Regions from separate parts of the Homo sapiens genome. Here region 2 is linked to region 1. The links are contacts of gene promoters, found by promoter capture Hi-C in human tissues and cell types (Jung and others, 2019). All regions are on one chromosome and are shown on one strand. Each heading gives the region's core, a stretch centred on a gene start or on the middle of the fragment in contact. The rest is flanking DNA. Distances are from core to core; before and after follow the strand shown.

Region 1 (5,570 bases), core at 990-3,489:
GCAGAAGCAGTAATTGTCTTAGAGAGTTAGGAGAAATGGCTTTTTGGAGCTGCGATCTTTTTCTGAAGGGAATATAGAGTCTATTTTAATTGATTCAGGTCATTATGACTATTTTCTAGATGGTCTTTTCAGGGTGACTAAACATCACCTTAGTTAAAGGAGAACAGTAAGAAACTCATTAAAGGTCCAAGGGGAACAGACTTAATAAAAAATGTTAACAAGTTGCTACTGGTACCTAAAAGGAAACCAGGGATACTTTTTAAGTCACTTGCGTCCCAGATAGAATTACTGGTGAAATTTAATGTGACGAGTATTTTTTAAAGTATTCTAAAATAAACATGAGGCAGCCAATGTATTCTGAGATGCTCACTGTCCCAGAGGAAGTTGTTTCTTAAACTGTACACTTTGATATATTTGTTTCCTTAGAAAAGTCAAGTGTAACAAGCTAGGTCAATTGCATCAAGAACATTACTAACAGGCTAACCAATGGTAAATGTTGTGAAGGCTACTCTGGAAATCTGTGCTTTCACGTATGGGGAAACCCACACGTCTGATTTGGGATGGAGGAGACAATTGTGCATTGTTTGTAGGCGCCAACAGACAGGCTAAAGCCAGGGATCCTTGCAGAGACAGGATTAAGGTATCAGGACTGTTCACATCTCATTTACATCACCCCGAAGAGTGGACCACAGGTTTTGCTGATTAGTACACAGACTATGGCAAAGGGCATTGTGTATTTGAAATAAGATCAAGATCAGTAACAGTAACAGAAACTATGTGTGAAATTTGGCATATGGCGGTTCCTCTGAAGGATTAGCTAACTGGGTTTCCCGCACTTACTATTTTTTAAAGCATTTTTCCAAACCAGGAAGTTAGCAAAAGAAAAATGTCCCCCAATTCCCTCCGCCTACCCCACGTTCTGAAGCACATATATTTATGCCACCTTCTGGCCTCTAATAATATTATTTATTGTCAAAATTTTGGATCCTTTTGAAAGGAAGGTGGGGCGTATTTCCACAGTGTCTTCGCAGGCAAAAGAAAGTGGTAGATTGAGTATGAAGGCAGACAAATCAGGCTACTACCATTGGAGTATTTTCCATTCTTTCAATTTGTATTGTTCCTTCATCTTGGAGTTTGCAGTCAAGGTAACGATGATGCAATTATCTGCTTTCCTGGAGTTTTAGGTACCTACTAGGGGATGAATGTATTTCAATGGGAGGAGGGTGTAGAATGATGCCTATAATAATACGAATTATTAGGAGCTGTTAATTATCTGAATGTTATCCGGGCATTAGTAATGCCTCTCCAGTATATCTACCTTTTATGGATGAGACTGTACATTTAATAGGAAAAGTACCAGTGGGAATTGACAATTAGCAGCCACGCTTGAGCTAGATGCAGCGTGGCATGTTTTATCCAGCTTAGATAGTTGTCGACCAAACAGGCCAAAGTTTTCTTCAGTAGAAAATGCCCTGCCAAATGGTTTCTGGATCCTTCGCGGACAAACAGCAAAGGAGCTGAAAGCGACCTCTTTCAACCATGCCAGAAACTGTCCATGGCGCTTCTAGATTCACAAAATCTGTTTTAGACACAGATGTCTTTAACCAAGATTGGAAACCCACTGGCCGTCCCATCCCAAAGTAAAAAGTGCCACGTCCTCCCATCCTCCGCCTTCCTTGGGATGTCAGCCCCGTTCTAATTCCTTTTTAGTTTCTCCTCAGCCCTCGGCAGGGCTGGCAGGGGGCTACCTGCGATTTCCCAACGTGGACGTGGACAATCGGATTTGTCTCTACCCAAGCTGGCAGCGGATGGGGACGAGTTCTGTTCCCGAGAGAGTCTCAGAAGTAGGCACGGAATCATCTCACCGATTTTAATTTCTGTCCCTGGGCTGGGGAGAGGGGAGGATTGGGGCGCGGGAGGCTCTGTTCTCCTCCTCCCCTCTTTTCCCCACCTCCCAAAATTGGCAGCCAGTCTGTGGCTCTCGGTCTGGGGTCTGGAGGGTGGGGAATGTGGGTGTGGGGGCCGGCTGGAGAAGCTCTCGCTAGCGCTGCCTGTGGCCAGACCCGCCTCTTGTCCCCTTTCGGGCGCACACACACGTCCACCCAGACACTCCGCGCGCTCCCTCGCGCTTTTGCTTGCCCGCCCGCCGCCGCCTGCTTTTTCCCTCCTGCTTTCGCCGGTCGCCTTCTCCTTCTTTTTTTTTTTTTTTTTTTTTTTTTTTTTTTTTTTTTTTTTTTGGTACCATAGAGTTGCTCTGAAAACAGAAGATAGAGGGAGTCTCGGAGCTCGCCATCTCCAGCGATCTCTACATTGGGAAAAAACATGGAGTCAGCTCCGGCAGCCCCCGACCCCGCCGCCAGCGAGCCAGGCAGCAGCGGCGCGGACGCGGCCGCCGGCTCCAGGGAGACCCCGCTGAACCAGGAATCCGCCCGCAAGAGCGAGCCGCCTGCCCCGGTGCGCAGACAGAGCTATTCCAGCACCAGCAGAGGTAGGAGGCTGGAGAGGGGCTGGGGAGGGGGCGGCGGGAGCCCGGGCGCGGAGCGGGGGGCGGCCGGGAGCGGGCGCCCGGGGCGCGGGGTCCGGCGGCCGCGCGCGAGCCTGCGGCGGCGCCCCGAGCCCGGAGGACCCCCCTCCCCTCCCCCCTCCGCCCCCCAGAAATGTTGCAAACTTTTGCAGCCCGTTCTCGGCTTGCGGGAGCAGAGTGGGGCGGGGGAGGCGGCGGGAAGGTTGACAGCCGGCGGGCTCACCCCCCTGGCTTTGATTTTTCTGCAAACACTGGAGGAAAGCTGCGTTGCCTCAATTAAATACGCTCCCCCAAAATACGGAGATGCGGGGAGTGGGGGCCCGGGAAAGAAACTTTTAAAGCGGCAGTGTCCTTTTAAGAAGGGGCAAAAAAATCTGTTTATGGCCACCCTCCTTCCGCTTTACCTTTTCTCCTCTTGACAGTTTCGGCCCTGGCTGCCCGAGTCGGGGGTGTGTTTTCGGTCCCTCTCAGATCTGGGCGGGGGGCGGGAGGAGTGAGCGACCTGGGAAGTCCCGGGGGTGGAGAGGGGGCGCTCCGGGGTCTGGGGGCGACGTGGACACCTTCTTTGGAGCACGGCGGTGCGTTTGGGATTTGAAGGAAGGGCCGAAGGAAGCGGGGTGCGGGCGGGCGAGCTGTTCGCCAAGTTGTCTGGCGGGCGCGGCGAGGGGAGATGCGCAAGTTTGCAGACCGGGGGTTCGGAGCCCGGCGCCCAGGCTGGCGGGGGGCGTGTGCGCGCCAACGCGCAGAGGGCGGCGGTCCTGTGGGGCGCTCCACGCGCATCCGGAGGGAGCGTCTACAAAAGCAAGCACCGAAACTTATTTCTGCTCTGGGAATCCTTCCCTCTCGGAGGTTCCAAGCATTTCTGCAGGAACCTGGGGATGGTCAGTGCAAGTTGTATGCTGGTTGGATAGTGCAAGCAATGTTTTCTCCTCCCCTGGCGATTTTTACTCTTCATTTTGGTGTTTGGTCTGTGTCTGCGTGTGTTGGGGGGGATGGGGGGGACTCAGTTGCTCCCTCCTTTCCTAAAGTGAGCTGTTGAGGAAAGCTCACTCTTTCTTGAAGGTATTGGAACCTGATGTGTGTTTTTCTCGAGAGTGGGGGATTATTTATTTGAATGCGCCTGGAGTTTGCAAAGAACAGGAGGAAGCTACAGCTTTAATTACTGTTGTAAATAATGTATAAATCGCGCCTGTCACTCCGGAGGAAGCGTGCTCGCGCGAGCCGCCTGGAGCTGGGGACGGAGAGGATTTCTCCAGCCCCGGCTTGGGTACCGGCCCAGCGCGCCCCCTCCTCTTGCACTCGGCTTCTGGCGGCGGTTGGGGAGGGCTGGGTAGAGGCGAATGGGGGCCCCAGGAACTGCTCCCTTCCTCTCGATGTTGTAGTTGGAGGTAGGAATATGGCTGATCATGTGCTGGCTGTTTTACAGTATCCCCCCCCCCACCTTAGCCACACCCCCTGTCCAGGCGCTTTCCCATTCACGGAATTCGAGTACAGTAAAAGCCATCAGGATGACACACGCGAAAAACATTTAATTAAAGGCGATTTCCAAAGGGTGACCGCGGCGAACCGCGGTTTCAGCGGGAGGGGGGCGGCGAGGGCTGGGACAAAAGGGAAGGGGATGAGGGCTGGGGGCCTGGACCTGCCGCTAGCTCGGTGAGTTTGTGTGCGGGGAGCTTTTGGCTGCAAAGAGTATATTTAGACCCTGAGACGGTGGATTTGGAATGCGAGCGGGTTATGTAACAGGGTTAATCAGAAACACTGGAGAAAATCCCCTTCATGTGTTTCTGGGGCTTTTTTTTTTTTTTTGGAATGGGGGGGACATAGTATTTAGGAAGCTGCACTAATTTTTGGTTTGTGCTGCCACCTTTCTCCTTCTTGACCCCCCCACACCCTGTGTTATTAACATCTTCAGGTGTCATTCTTGCCAGAAGGTGTTCTTGCAAGCGATCAGGGTGGCAGGCTGCAGAGCCGACTAGCAAATCCGTAACTTGCTGTTCTTGCAAATTATGTAACGCCGGAGCATTCAGTGCCACCAGCCCCCTTAGGCTCAGCAAAAAGGGGAGAGGGGCATAGTAGGAGTGGGATACATCTTGCACAGCTGACCTGCTGACCCATATCCCCTTCCCCCCACCCTCTGCCCCCACCCCAACTCATTCTTTGAACCAGCCCCTGTCTGTCCCTCCTGGAAGATTTAATGGGAGGGGGGTGGTAAGGCCCAAACACTCAACTCACATCCTGCACGCAGGCACTAGGTTATATAACAGTCTGAATGGAAAAAGGAAGGTCAGAGATGGAGGCATCCTTTAGCTAACACAGCAGTAGTAATAGCTTCCAGAAATTATGTGCATTTGCAGACTTTAACCTCAGATGTAGCATCTGCTCCTCAGGGGTACCAATCTTTATGTGTGTGAGCTAGGGAGAAAAAGAGAGAATGTGTAAGTATGCCTGGTAGTTGAGAGTGATTTGAAAATGGGAAATGTTTGGGTTTTCAGATGATGTAATGGAGTTGGCAGAATATGCAAGCCGGCTCCCAGAGTGTAAGCAGTAAGAAAATTGGAGCTGGCATCCAGTATTAATGTTGCATAAATTACAATATCGGAAAGAAATTAACCTACACACTAGGTGATTATGCCTTTTAAATACTTAAAACATAAAGGCACACAACTAGAAAGGAAAAGCAAACATCATCACCTTATGATTAGCATTTTCAACCTCCAGGAGGGTGGAGTGGAGTTCTTGGCATTGGGTGAAATGGGAAGCTTTCTGATTTGGGAGATACTTTCCAAAGGGTAGCAGGTTTAGCTTCTACCCAGTCAGTGTTTGAAGTCCACAGAAATTGTGGTCTGAATTCTCATGACATTGCAGTGACCTCATGAGACATTACCTAGGTAGACTTGAGGCTACTGTTGAATTCCTCCCTCTTGGGAATCCAAGTGTGGATGCACTGTGTACCTTTATTGCCTGAGCTTACAAAATCAGGTGTGTGACTTTATAATCTGAAAGACGACCTTCCCCTGTCCATAAAACTGCTGGGAATGTTAGCAGT
Region 2 (5,570 bases), core at 2,210-4,709, 430 kb before region 1:
ATGCATTGTGAGAAATACTCTGAAAGAAGTAATGTTATTAAAGAATTCATTCAGTGGTCACTCTTAGAGGCTGGGGAATTAGACAGCAGTCTTTTCATCAGCAGAGAAGTGTTCCAGTGCAGAGTGAGGTGTGAAACGTTAAGAATGAAAGAGGCAGCAGTTTTAAGTCTTGTGCCATTATTTGCTTGCTATGGGGCCGTACAAAATCAATTTAGCCTTCCTGACTTGGTTTCCTCATTTGCAAAGAAATTAATGCTTGCTTCACGGGCTTGATGAGGTATGAATAGAAATCACCTGGTACAAAGCGAGCACTTGATGAACATTTTCTATTATGATTTCTCAACAGATGCTATGTTTAAAGAGGTTTTATGTCTGAAATAACTTGATTTTATGAAGCAATAATATGTTTATTCAACAGAGACATATACATCTGCCAATTAGAGTTCCGATGAGCTTAAGTTCTTCCACTGATGTAATTCCTATCAGTTGCGAAGGATTTTGGTGTCTCAGACTGAACATTGACATTTGAGTTTTTTGAAATTTTCAAGTAGCTCCTATATCCTCATTACTACAAATCTTTGTCAGTTCCTACTGATACCTAAGACTAGTTGGCAGCTGCAAGATTTTAGGCTCATGGGTAGCTAACAGGAGCCAAATATCTCCATGTCTTGAGAGAACAATTCAAGAGGGCTGAATTCATAAGGCCACAGTTAGGTCACCAGGATCACTCTATGTTAGGGCTGTCGATTGAACATTACTCATCTTTTTCCCTGCAGAATTTTCTGGGGACTTGGGAGCTTATTTTGCCCTTCAGAAATATCTTTATTCATGTTTTACAGGTTAGTTTTGGGAGTAAGATTCACCTGGGGGATGGGAAGTCAGGGATCTGGCTCCTCTCTAAGGAGAAGTCTGAAGTACAAAAGGGCAGGTCCAGCTGGGGGCTCTAAGTGTTCTCCAGGTTTCTCAGAGGTGCCCGAGAAGTCTTAGGGGAAGGAAGCTAAGATCTGCCTTTCACAGCCCTTTTCAAGCACAGCCACTCTGCAGGTAATCTGTTTCATGTTTTAGTATCCATGTATGAATTTGTTTGAAAAAAGAGAGTCATTGTAAAACACTGAGCAACAGTCATTGAAAATTATCGATGTGGTCCAACCCATTAAAGTTTGAACTATGACTGAACAAACCGAATTTCCATCAGGGAGCTTAAATGCCTAGAGTAAGAACTCATGGTTGGATTAAGGCAATCACTGTGCTTGGCTAGCTGCCTGTCTATCTATCCATCTATTTGTCCATCCATATCTGTGAAATGGCATCATTTCTTACATTTTAAAGATGAGGAAACCAAGATGTAGAGAGGTTGTGTCTTGCCCAAGTTCACACAATTAGTAGCTGGCAGTAGTAGAAGCTGGGATTCCAGAAGAGATAGTCTGACTCCAGGACTCACACCTTTATCCTCTAGGAAAATCTAAGAACATTTTACCAGGAAGTAGTTTCAGAACTACACCTAAAATGATAAGAATTATTTTAAATAAGAGGTGGGAGAGGATTGTGGGGAAAACATTCCAGGCAGTGCCCAGTACAGACAAAGTACTGAAAGCCTATTAACATGATAAAAACGCAGTGTGGAGCCACATTTCGTAAAGGTTTTATAATTGCTATCTCAAAGAGTGAGACTTTAATTCCTAGTGCACACAGACTAGAACTTAGCTCTTAACTATTAAGCGAAGATGCGCTGGGAGACAGCATGAGGATTGGGGTCAGTGTCTGCCACCTCCCAGTTGTGCAACACCAGGCAAGCTACTTAATCCCTCTGTGCCTCAGTTTCCTCATCTCTAAGATGGGAGCGTAATAGCCACTTCACAATGATATTATGAGGATTCAATGGCGTAGTATACATAGAGGCATTAAGGGTAATACCTATCCTATGATAAGTAATAAATGGTTGCTAATTATTTGGATTAACTCTCAATCTAATAAGACAAGCTTATTTTTTGAGCACTGATACGTGTCGGGCATGGCACCAAACACTACATAGGCATTATTACTCTTTACAACAACAGCTCTATGAAGCAGCTGCTATTATCTCCCTGATTTGCAAAGGATGAAACTGAGGAGGAATACAGTATTGATTTTAGTGTCTGATTCCAGAGCTCTTAACTATTATGTGGCCCTGTCCCCTTTACAGGACACTGCGTGGGAATTTCAGCAAGTTTTGATGTAGACAGGAGGTTCACTGGAGAGAGAGATATTTGGAACAAATGGGCTTTATAACAACCTCTTGAAATTACACCAACGAGATGATAACCCAATTATTGGGTCTTATGCCTCTTGAAGGGTCTGTAGTCTCTTGTATAAGGTCTAGGGTTTTGCTTTTTGCATACTCTTAACTCTTTTACCAGCCATTCCATGAACGTATTTTATTTTTTTACATCTTTGTAAAAGGCTATATAAGTTAGCTTTCACAGTCTACCCTGATATCCCGTGACTTAAACCCTCAACCATTTATTTAGCTCATGATTCTGTAAATTGGCAGACCAGGCTGGGCTCAGCTTTGTGATTCTTCTTTTGATCCTGGCTGGGTTATGTATAAAGTCAGCTGCCAGATCTGCTGGGGCTTGTTGGTCTGATAGGATATTCAGTGGGGATGATTCATTTGGTCTTTCATTTTTCTAGGGTGCTAATCTGGGTTTATTCTTGTGGTGGGAGAACAGTTCCAAGAACTAGAAGAGAGAGAACAAACCCCAGTGTGCAAGTACTTTTAACGTTTCCACATTTTGAAAGTCTGCTGTTGTCTCCATGGCCAAAGCAAGTCACATGACCACTCTGAGAGTCAGTGTGGGAGGAGGCTGCTGAAGGGAGTAATGCAGGCACATGAAAAACTTGGATGCAATGCAGGAATAATCTACCACCTAGGCTTTAAAAAGTTAGCCACAGTGGCTCTGCAGAGCGGCTGCATAGTCACAGGTTTGGAAGGATGCTGGAGGAAAGCATCTTTTGTTAAGTTGCACTGGGTACTCAGCTTTTACTTGGGAGCAGTTAGACACCTCTTTGGTGTGACCGTGGTATCAGATGGTACCAGAAGGTGGCATGACACATCAGGGACCATACACTCTTAAGTTGTCCCCTTCCCACCCTCCATGTCCAGCCCTTCAATCTAAAGGAGGACTCACCAGAGACAGCATTCTAGTAGCTAGTGAGGGCTGAGCTGTGGAATGACTGATTGTACTATTATCTTTACCTTATTATTATTATTTTTTGTGCACACAGGCTGGCATGGCCTGAAGAAAAAGCTGATATATCCATTAGAATTTATGCAGCACTTAAGATATCTCAATAAAGTCATCTGCAACCCTCTCCAATCACTATCATTCTAAAGGACCACCTAAGTTGATCTTGCTTACCCTTGAAATAAGATTGTGGTGGTATCACCCTACAAACTCACTTGGGTAATAAATTTCAGGCTTACATTCAATTTAGTTACCATATTAATGGTTTCTGTAGTTTATTTTTTGCTCAACCGTATGTTATGTCCCATTTTATTTCATGAAGAAAGAAAATGCTGTAGGGTTTTTGAGGACCTTAGTATCTGGTATCCAGCCACACACACATAACGATACAACCCATTACTCAATGCTGGCCATTCTGGGAAACACAATAAAGAGTCTGGTGAAAATAATTTTTCAAAAGTACTTCTTGTCCTCCTGTGATTTCAATATAAATGTCGGTATTATAATAAAATCCACCAGAACAGGAAAAATTCCTTAGCTCTTTGTAAATATCTTAAGAAATAGTATGATAATACTTTCATACCCTGAAACTTGGGGCTGAAAACAAAAATGTAATGATCGGATTCCATGGGAATGAGATGATGGCATCCATCCAGGCTCAGCAGTGTTTACTGCTGCTACTGCTGTGTGTCATCAAATTCTGGATTTTGATTGCAGTTTTGATGCCACAGACCTTGCGTGGAAAGGCCCCTTTTGCATATGCAGTTTGCTTACAGTTTCCATAGATACCTTTAAGGAGAGTTTGAGGATTTCAGGATTCAGTGCCCTAGGGACATGTTGTTGTTGTTGTTAAACCATCAGCTGAGTTCATTCCAATAAGCATTAGTATAGTTCCTTCTGGGCTAGGTTCTGTAGCTGGTTCTGAGCCAGGCATATACACAGCCCTGACCTGTGGAAGCTTCAAATCTGGTAGAATTCAGTGACAGAGGCAGGCCTGTGGGATGAAATAACAACTTTGATAAAGATACCAAGAAGTACCCAGAAGAGAGGAATACATTGTAGAGTGGGGAGGCAGGAGAACAGAGAGGAGATGTTTAAGGGGTATTTTGAAAGATAAACATTAAAGGACATTCTGTTTGACTTGGTGAAAACTGAAGATTAGAAAGCTTGAGCGGACTACTAGGTCTGGAGAGACAGTGAACTAGTTTTTTAACTACCTAAATATGCTTGACAAAACAGCTAGACTATCTAAATATACTTAACAAAATGTTGATATATGATAATTTTAAAATAAAAGTTAAGCATACCAGAAAGCAAGAGAAACTCCCCATGGTTGAGAATGTAAGGGGAGTAGGAGTCCGGAGAGGTAAGTGATGGTCAAAGTTGCTGAGTACCAATAAATTCCAGGTTAATCAAGAGCTCTGGCTTCAGTAGCTGTGCCTATGTGTAAGGGAGGCAGATAAAAAGACCTCACTCGGGAGAGAAGCCAGTGGTGTAATCCTGTGGTAAAGCTGGGACCGATGAAGGACAACATTCTCAGGGAAAGAGTGAACTGGAAAAAAATGTATATGCCAAAGAGTCAGATGGCAAAGAACCTTGACTGATTTAAACTGGCTATTGAAGGGTGGAGAATGTGGCAATATACCAGCTTTAACATAGGTTCAAGGCCTGAATTCACAGTGTTTGCATGGTCTAAATAACCACAAGCGAAGAATTCAAATTTAAAGCAGACTCAGCAGGAGTGAACACAAATTTCTAAAGGAACTCAGATTCGATTCATTCATAAAGAATTTTCATAGGCTGAGTTCCAGTGAGCATGAGCTCAGAAATGGCAAAACATACAAGAAAATAAAGCATCATGAGTGAGAGTCAACAGAGACAGCCAGTAACAGCAAATAATTACCTTGAGTGTTTAACATGTTTAATACATTTAAAGAAATAAAATAGGAAAGCAAAAATATGAATAAGGAGTGAAAGGCTATCAAAAATGACCTGTCATACCTGAAGAAGTACTAAATAGAATGTCTAGAAATAAAAAAGTAATTGAAATAAAAAATTCAGTGAAATAATAGCCCTAAACTAAAAAAAAGCAAAAATTCATCAATAGCAGAAGGAGTAAATTGTGATATATTCATATAATGGAACGTTACAACACAATGAAAAGAGAAAAATATTGCTAATGCAACACCATGGATAAACATCATAGTCAAAATATGAAGCCAAACAAGCCAGATACAGAGCATATGTACTATATGAGTCCATGTATAGAAAGTTCAAAAACAAGCAAAGCTAATCTAGGTTGATTGTGGTCAGAATAGAGGTGACCTCATGTGGTAGGGTGCTGTT

The links. The method cuts DNA at HindIII sites, captures the fragments that hold promoters and counts their contacts. A contact is called where the count stands out against the background at its distance.
Region 2: a fragment that was not itself captured here is called in contact with the fragment with the promoter of RORA in region 1 in 1 of the 25 tissues and cell types used here (stomach).

Annotation. Positions count from the first base shown.
Region 1 is chr15:61,225,971-61,231,540 of GRCh38, reverse strand. RORA (RAR related orphan receptor A) reads left to right here and starts at 2,239. Exons shown (of 11, transcript NM_134261.3): 1 at 2,239-2,488. The coding sequence starts at 2,323. The HindIII fragment of the contact is 14,135 bases long and covers 1-5,555 here.
Region 2 is chr15:61,659,129-61,664,698 of GRCh38, reverse strand. The region is part of intron 1 of LOC107984782 (a long non-coding RNA gene); the gene reads left to right. Among named protein-coding and RNA genes, the nearest start is that of LINC02349, 68 kb to the left of the region's middle. The HindIII fragment of the contact is 5,187 bases long and covers 866-5,570 here.